Linked DNA regions of Homo sapiens: all the other regions are linked to region 1. The links are contacts of gene promoters, found by promoter capture Hi-C in human tissues and cell types (Jung and others, 2019). All regions are on one chromosome and are shown on one strand. Each heading gives the region's core, a stretch centred on a gene start or on the middle of the fragment in contact. The rest is flanking DNA. Distances are from core to core; before and after follow the strand shown. Region 1 holds the start of ROPN1 (rhophilin associated tail protein 1). Region 2 overlaps MYLK (myosin light chain kinase). Region 3 overlaps KALRN (kalirin RhoGEF kinase).

Evidence for each region. The method cuts DNA at HindIII sites, captures the fragments that hold promoters and counts their contacts. A contact is called where the count stands out against the background at its distance.
Region 2: a contact is called between a fragment that was not itself captured here and the fragment with the promoter of ROPN1 in region 1, in 2 of the 25 tissues and cell types used here (liver and stomach).
Region 3: a fragment that was not itself captured here is called in contact with the fragment with the promoter of ROPN1 in region 1 in 2 of the 25 tissues and cell types used here (IMR-90 fibroblasts and aorta).

Annotation. Positions count from the first base shown.
Region 1 is chr3:123,990,754-123,993,483 of GRCh38, reverse strand. ROPN1 (rhophilin associated tail protein 1) reads left to right here and starts at 1,360. Exons shown (of 6, transcript NM_001317774.2): 1 at 1,360-1,562. RefSeq lists an enhancer at 1,072-1,588. The HindIII fragment of the contact is 7,331 bases long and covers 1-2,730 here.
Region 2 is chr3:123,874,228-123,876,957 of GRCh38, reverse strand. It overlaps MYLK (myosin light chain kinase), which reads left to right. Exons shown (of 34, transcript NM_053025.4): 2 at 341-399. Among named protein-coding and RNA genes, the nearest start is that of MYLK, 8.7 kb to the left of the region's middle. The HindIII fragment of the contact is 6,903 bases long and covers 1-2,730 here.
Region 3 is chr3:124,075,410-124,078,139 of GRCh38, reverse strand. All of the region lies in intron 1 of KALRN (kalirin RhoGEF kinase), which reads right to left. Among named protein-coding and RNA genes, the nearest start is that of KALRN, 43 kb to the right of the region's middle. The HindIII fragment of the contact is 3,644 bases long and covers 1-2,730 here.

The DNA.
Region 1 (2,730 bases), core at 111-2,610:
AATACACACTGTTGTATAAATGGAATGAAGGATTAGATGATGCAATGGGCCCCTTTAAAATAGGTGTGAAGTGACACGGGATGTAGCAGAGAAAGATGGGGCTTTTCTTGCCTCCTTGGGTGCTTAAAACGAACAGTCTTGAGACCAGGTGCGGTAGCTCAAACCTGTAATCCCAATACTTTGGGAGACCAAGGCAGGTGGATCACTTGAGCCCAGGGATTCAAGACCAGCCTGGGCAACATGGCAAAACCCCGTTTATAAAAATATAAAAATTAGCCTGTCATCGTGGCAAGCACCTGCAGTCTCAGCTACTTGGGAGGCTGAGGTGGGAGGATTGCTTAGACCTAGGAGATTGAGGCTGCAGTGAGTCATGATTACCCCATTGCACTCCAGCCTGGGCAACAGAGCAAGACCCTGTCTCAAAACACACACACACACACACACACACACACACACACACACACACACACACACACAGTCTTGAAACCGGAAGACCTGGAGTAAAGTTGGGCCCTGAGCCCTACTGCCAGCTGTTCGATCACAGGCAAAATTACTCGAAGCCTTGAGCCTGTTTTTTATTTCCAAAGCGAAGGTAATACCTACCTTCAGAGTTTACTGTGAAACTTTGATGTCATCATGTTTGTAAAAGTGCCCTGGCACAGTGACCACATTCTACCCTATAAATATTTTCTATCTTTCCCTGTTGTCCCCAGGCATCTCAGGCTCTGTTCCTATCCACTCCATGCCCCTTTCTTAGCATTATAAGGTCAAGAGTGAGGAATCTGGGACCACGCAACCCAGATTCAGATCCTGACTCTGTCACTTGCTGACTGTCATCTTGGACAAGTTTAACCTCTCTGTGCTCAGTTCCCTCATCTGTAAAAATGGGGATAACAATAGTACTTGCCTCATGGGGTGACAGTAAGGATGAAATGAGTTCATGTGTGTAATGCACTTAGAACAATTCCTGGCACCAAAAACTCATTGTAAGAAGTGTTGTTACTATGATTCCTGAGGAATTCTCACCTGTCCACTTTCCACAAGCCGAAAGATCAAGCTCCACTTCTGCCCTCTCACCTACAAAAGCGCACCGTCAATGGCTACACATTCCGCCCCACCCCCAACGCCCCCAGCCCGGGTTTCCTAACGTCCCCAGCCCAGTCCTTAACCCTCCAGGCCGTCTGGTCCTTCCACCACCAGCAAAGCCCAAAACAGCTTTCAGCGTCCCCTAGCAGCGCCCTAGCGGGACCCTGGGAACCCGCCGCTGCAGGAGAGGCGGGGCGGCTCTGTGACGTCGCGCCCGGCGCTACCCCTGGTGACCTGGCAGCGGAGCCCGCGCAGGGTTTGCCAGGCGAAGGCGGAGCGCTAACGTCTAACGCTAACGGCGGTCGTGCCCCGCCGCTGCTGTCACCCCCGGCCGCTGCTGCCCTCCCCGCCGAGGTTCTACTGCTCTCCTTCTTAAGAAGGGTGGGAGGCACTCGGTCTCTCCCCACACCTCTCGCCTGAGGCCAGGCGCCAGGTGTCGCCTGAAGCCAGACAGCCGGTTTGGGAGCGAGCCTGAGGTAGCCACCCCGAGGGGAAGTGGAGGGAGGGCAGGGCTCTGAGCGCCCCGAGGGCTGCGCTGGTCTGAGGGAGGAGCCCTGCCGGACGCCCCCTGGATTCTGAGCCTCTCCTTGTTCACAGGGCAAGGGGAAGGCAAGGGGATCTTCAAGAGAATGTGACTGTGGGGGATTATGGCTTTCTGGCCAATTTGTGTGCGTATTTTGTACCCAGAATACTATTATACGGTTTCTTACCCGGAGGACAGTGGTTGGGAGGCTCAAGAGTTTGGAATCAGAGCCCTCCACCGAGGAGCCACACCTCTGCTTTTTCATCAGCGACAGGGATATAAAAATACCTCTGGGTGAATTGTCATGTGGATGTCATGGGCATACCTAGCACTTCATAGACTCCTATCACACATTATTTTATACCTAGCACTTCATAGACTCCTGTCAGGCATTATTTTATACCTGGCACTTCATAGACTCCTATCACATATTATTTTATACCTAGCACTTCATAGACTCCTATCACGCATTATTTTATACCTAGCACTTCATAGACTCCTATCACGTGTTCATTTTATAGCTAGCACTTCATAGACTGCTATCACGCATTCATTTTTACTAGTACCTATTGAACACTAAGTTCCAGGCACTGGGCTAGGCACTGGGATGGTGTGGTGAGCAAAAACTGACCAGTCCTGCCGTGGAGTTTGCTGGGGGAGACACATGTTACTCAAAGAATCACACTAAGGATAGGTAAGTGATGCTCTGGAAGGGTATGTACAATGGAACTGACAGGGTAATCAGGGAAGGTTAAGCAGACCTCCAAAGGAAGAATCAACCTGTTAAGAGGAGGAGAATGTATTCCAAACAAGAGTAACCACATCCCAAACCCACCATCTCCAATTCCAAACCCAAACAGGGATGTGCAGTTGCCTGTGCTTGGTTCCAAGTGATACTCATAGAAACCCTCTGAGATTCTGCCCTGGAGCCTTTCATTCATGTTACTGGAGACTTTCATTTATGAAACGGAAGCCCTGTTTAGCCCATACCAATAAAACCAAGTGAGAGATCCCTGAAACAAGGCTATAGTCTATTTTAAGACCTACATTCTTCAGCACTTGGCAGGTATATGTTGGCCTCCATTTTACATTGAGAGGCATGTAGGTTTCACTTAGGAGGA
Region 2 (2,730 bases), core at 83-2,582, 120 kb after region 1:
AGAGACAAGTCATAAATTATTATGGTATGTTTTTATCATTTGTTTAATTTTTCTCATGCTAAAATTTTATATCTGTAACTATACTGAAAAAACATCAAGGGAAGGACATGTTAATGCCTCTGTTTCCTCATAGCAGTGGTTCCAGAACTGGCTGATAACAAAATCTCTTTGGGAACCTTGTTTGAAAAATAATCTATGGCTCCCCAGTCCCAGCCCAGACTACCTTGGTGGGGTCAGGGAATCTCTGGTTTAACAAAGCTTTCCAGATGTTTGTGATGTCAACCTGATTTGATGTTTCACTATGTAATTGTTTCTATTATTTCTTTGATTTGTGTATTAGGAAGGATTCTTCAAAATTAACAGAAACCAATTCGGGCCAGCTGAAGAGAAAAAATAAAGGTAATAGCATGATAAAAGATGGATTCTTATATTTTCTTTATTCCAAATTATAGCCACTAAGATTCGTATCACTTTATAGTTTCTCAGGAAAAAGCACTTCCTTTCATATAGACAATTTTAGAAAAGTTTCTAAATTACAATATACCTTAATTTTTGAAATTGCATACCAGTTTTTTCATCATTATAATCAAAATATAAAGATCCTTCTGAACTATGATAATGTGATAACTGATATAATCTATCAGAGTTACATATGATTTCAAGGTGAAATGCTGTTTTTCATAATCTGTGTTCATGATTTTTGAATGTTGATGCATTCTTGCCTTCCTGGAATAAACACTTAGTCATAATGTATAGTTTTTTTAAAAAAAAAATACCCCAGTGACTTTGATTTTCTAATATTTTATTTTGGTTTTTTACATCTGTAGTCCTAAGTGAGATTGAACTATTAATTGTCTTTGCTTCCCTTGGCCAGTTTTGTATGTGCCCACAATTTTGACATTTTTGGCACCTTTAGGATTGACAGAATAAGTCTGAGGAATATTAAAGTCTACCAGGGTTTTGTCTATGTATTCTTTAGATTAAATTTTGAGTTCTAGCTTTTCTATAAGTAATATTGCTAAAAGTTAGATATCTTTTTCTAAAAGTTAACTGGAAACTTTGAAAAAAATAAATATTCAGTATCTACCTGATCATCTGTTGCACATAAATCAGTCACACCAACTTTTCCTAGTTTCGGTGTATTCTGGTCTGGTAAATTTGGCAGTTTCTACTGTCTTTTTATTCCATTGTTTGACAAATGATCAGCATTTTCCCAGGTACACAATAACTTTTCTTTTCAATGCTGCATCATAATAGGTTTTTTTGAAGACTCTTTTTCTTTCTCATGTAAAAAAGTAGATATAATTTATATACAGTAAAATTCACCTGTTTTAATGTACAATTCTGAACAATTAATACATAATTATGAGGAAGTTCAGTTCTGAATTTTGACAAATGTATATATAGTCATATAGGCACCATCACAATTGAGATACAGAAGAGCTCCATCACCTCCCAGAATTGCCTTGTGAGCTTTTGTTGTCTGCTCTCCCACCATGCAGACCTTGGCAGTTACTGATCTGCTTTCTCTCCCTGTGTTCTTTCCTATCTCGGAATGTCATATAAATGGAGTCATGGTTTGTAGGCTTTTTAGTGTGCCTGCTTTCACTTAGCATTAATGTGTTGGAGATTCATCCATGGTGGTGGGTATATCAATAGGTTATTCGTTTTTGTTGCTGAGTATTATTTCATTGTAAAGACGTATCACCGTGTGTTTACCTATTCCCCAGTTGAAGGACATTTGGGCTGTTTCCAGTTTGAGGTGATAATGAACAACTCACTATCAATGTTTGTGAACAGATTTTTAGGTGAACATAGATTTCATTTCACTTGGGTAAATATCTAGGATTGGGGTTTCTGGGAGGTATGGTAAATGTAATGGAATACCAAACTGTTTTCCAAAGTGGCTGTACCATTTTGCATTCCTGGTAGTAATATATGAGGGTTATATTTTCCACATCTTTGTCAGTACTTGGTATTGTCAGATTTTAAAAATTTTAGACATTCTAATAGGTATAGTTTTATCATATTGTGTTTTTAATTTGAATTTCCTTAGTGACTACTGATGTTGAACATCTTTGTACTTATTTGCCAAACATATATTGTCTTTGGTGAAGTATCTGTTTAAGTCTTTTGCCCAAGTTTTATTGGATTGTTTGTTTCCTTATGATTTAGATTTGAGAGCTCTTTATATATTCTGGACATTAATCTTTTATTGGGTACGTGTTTGGCAAATATTTTCTCGCTGCCTGTAGCTTGTCTTCTCATTCTCTTTAACAATGCCTGTTACTGCATGACAGAAGTCTTTAATTGTGATGAAATTCAATTTATCAATTTTTAAAGATGTGTTATGCTTTTGCTGTTATATCTAAGAAATACTAACCTAATGTGGAGTCATTAAGATTTTCTCCAGTGCTTTCTTCAAGACGTTTTACATTTTTAGGTTGTATATTTAGTTCTGATCCATTTTAAGTTAATTTTTATACATGATGTAAGGTATAGATAGAGATTCTGTTGTGCATATGAATGTCCAATAGTGCTAGCACCACAATGAAAAGATTATCCTTCTCTTATTGAATTGTGTTTGTACCTTTGTTGAAAATCAGTTGAGCATGTATGTGTGGTCTATTCTGAGTATTCTGTCCCATTGATTTATGTGTTTATTCTTTCAACAATACCACACTGTATTGATTATTGTAGCTTTATTGTAAGTTTTGAAGTAAGGAAATT
Region 3 (2,730 bases), core at 109-2,608, 85 kb before region 1:
AGGAGCAAAGGCACAGAGATCACCAAGTAGTTCAAGTCACTGGAGCTAAGCCTATGGGACAGGTAATACCGGGGCCAGAGCGTAGAGGTCCTTGAATAATACCTTTGAGTAGTCGGTATATGCCAGGCTAACTGCTTTACATTCATGATCTCATTTATTCGTTGAAACAATTCTATGTAAAACCCCCTATCACAAAGAAGCAAACGGGTCCACAGAAGTCAAGAAAACTGCCCATGATGTCACAGTTGATAAGTGGCAGAGCTGGGATGCACACCCAGGCCAGCCTTATGACCATGGCAGCAATGCTGTGGTGCTCTGGAGCCTGGGATGCCAAGTTAAGGAGTTGCTACTTTATCCAATGGGAGCTACTTTGAGCAGGAGCATGCCAAGGTTCAAAGACTGTGCTTGGGAAGACGTATCAGACGGTAATGGGGAGAATAGATTGGGAGTCAGGTTTGAAGCCTATTGCAATAGTACCAATGTTGTATCATTAAACTTCTGAACTGGAGAGTGGCGGTAGAACTGGCAAGGGGATTCAGAGCTGAGAAGTTCCAGAGGAAGAGCGGGGACAATTAAGGATGATCCCAAGCTATGCACCTGAATGACTGGAAGGATGCGGATTTGGAAGTGGCCCTGCATATGTGCATGCCATGGGAAAGAGTAGGAATGAATGAGTGGCCCTGCATATGTGCATGGCATGGGAAAGAGTAGGAATGAAGAGTAGGAATGAATGGCCTTAAGTCCTCAGGAGCCCCAAACCAGGGGGCAGCCTAAATCCTCTCCACTCTTTTCCTCTCCCTAAGCATTGCTGCTACCTGCAAAAGCTTCCTGACTTCCCTGAGCCTTCCCACCCATCTGGGGCATCTGAGCTCAGCAACTCACAAAAGCAGAGGGATAATAATGCGACATGAGACATCACACAACCATGTCCACCCAGGTCTACTCTCCTCTGGCCAGCCTGACCCAGCGCAGACAATGTCTGGTCCCAAACCAGCACCAAGAAGTGGAATAGCAGCAGACAGGAGTTAGAGGCCACAGGTAGTGATTCTGACTCCTTCACTGACTCCCTGTAACCTTGGACCAGAAGCTTAACTTCTCTGGATCTGTTTCCTAATCTGTAAACCGAGGAGTTTGAACCAGAATCAGAAGCTGCAAACTAGGGGCACACAGGACAAACTCATCTTGTGAATGGACTCTGACCAACACAATGTCTTTTAATTAGCTTCAACATTTAAAAACTGGGCCACTTCACAAAGAAAGTGCATATTTGCCGCTGTTCTTGAAGCAGGAAGGTCTGGCAACATGGAGCCCACATTCCTACATGGCATCAATCAGCTGGGGCTGAGTGGCTGCTGGGACACCACCCTCCAGTTTGCCACAGTCCCCACCACCCCTACTGTCCCTGATTGCTGCCACTCATCATCTATACATGGGTCATTATGATCTTTTATGCTAATGGTCTGGCCCCTGTAGGGAACTGAGTTCACAACCTCTAGAGAAAATGATCTAAAATATCATCATTGCAAGACTCAGGAGTTGGGGACATTAAACAGAAGCACAGAGGAGTTGGGAGTGATTTTCCCTCAATGGAAGATGCGGGCTCCTCCGAGGAGCAAGGGCTTGCTACAGCGGATGAAGGTTCATTAACACGTGTGTCAGGCCTGCCCACCGCCCCACACCACACCCTCAACAAGGCACAAGGCCAGATGACATCAGCCTTGGACACAGTCAGAGAAGCCCCATCATGAAGCAATTTGCTTCCCCAGCCACTCTAATTTAACAATTAGCTTAACAACTCTGGTCAGGCACTTGCTGCTGGAGTGGAGAAATGATCCTGATCAGCAGAAGCTTCAGCCTAGAAGCTTTAGGAACTCCCTTCCTATCCCCCCACCCTAGCTGCCCTTGCTTCCCTTGGGTCTGCATCTCCTGCTCACACAGATAGATATTCTAAATATCTCCAAAGAGGTTTCACCTTCTCCTTGAGCTTCCCAATTGGGCTCCTTAGAAACTTTCCAGCAAAATTAGTTTCTCCTGCTGCCACTTCAGCCCATTCTCTTAGTCTGTCCTGCAGAGATTCTGGCCTCATCGCAGGAAGCACGTCAGGCCAGTAGCGAGATGGCGTGTGGAAGGAAGCCTGCACATAGGCCACACGCAGAGACAGGGGTATACTCACAAGGCTGGCGACCTTGGGCCGTCCTTGGTGCAGATCCTGACTCAGAGCACAAGCCTCAGAAACAGAGTTTGCCCTGACTCAGACAGCATGCTCAGCTCCGCATCTGCATTGCCAAAAGGCCTCTTGGTAAGAATGCACAATACTCCCTCTCTACAGCTTGTGCTGCTCCTGCCTCAAGCTGCACCCCAAACCCGAATGCCAAATTTCAGAGAAAGAGAGCGAGATTATTAAGGGGACGTCAAAAGGAAAACTTTATAAAGTCACAGTCTATTATTTTTAAATACAGTATTAGAATTCCAGGATAGATGGGGTGAAGCCAGCACCTAAAATAGCAGACCCTCAAGAAAGCAAACATCCCTGCATGACCAGATAGAGATTTCACAGAGAACCTGGAGAAAGAAATGGCTCATAAAAATGGAACAACAACCAGGAAACTAATCAGACCAAAAATAAACCTGAGAGATGCCAATGCCAAGGTCAACCCCAAAGGTTATTTTGTTCCAATGGGGCCAAATCAGTGGAACCAGTTGATGATACTCTTAGTACAAGTGGTGTCC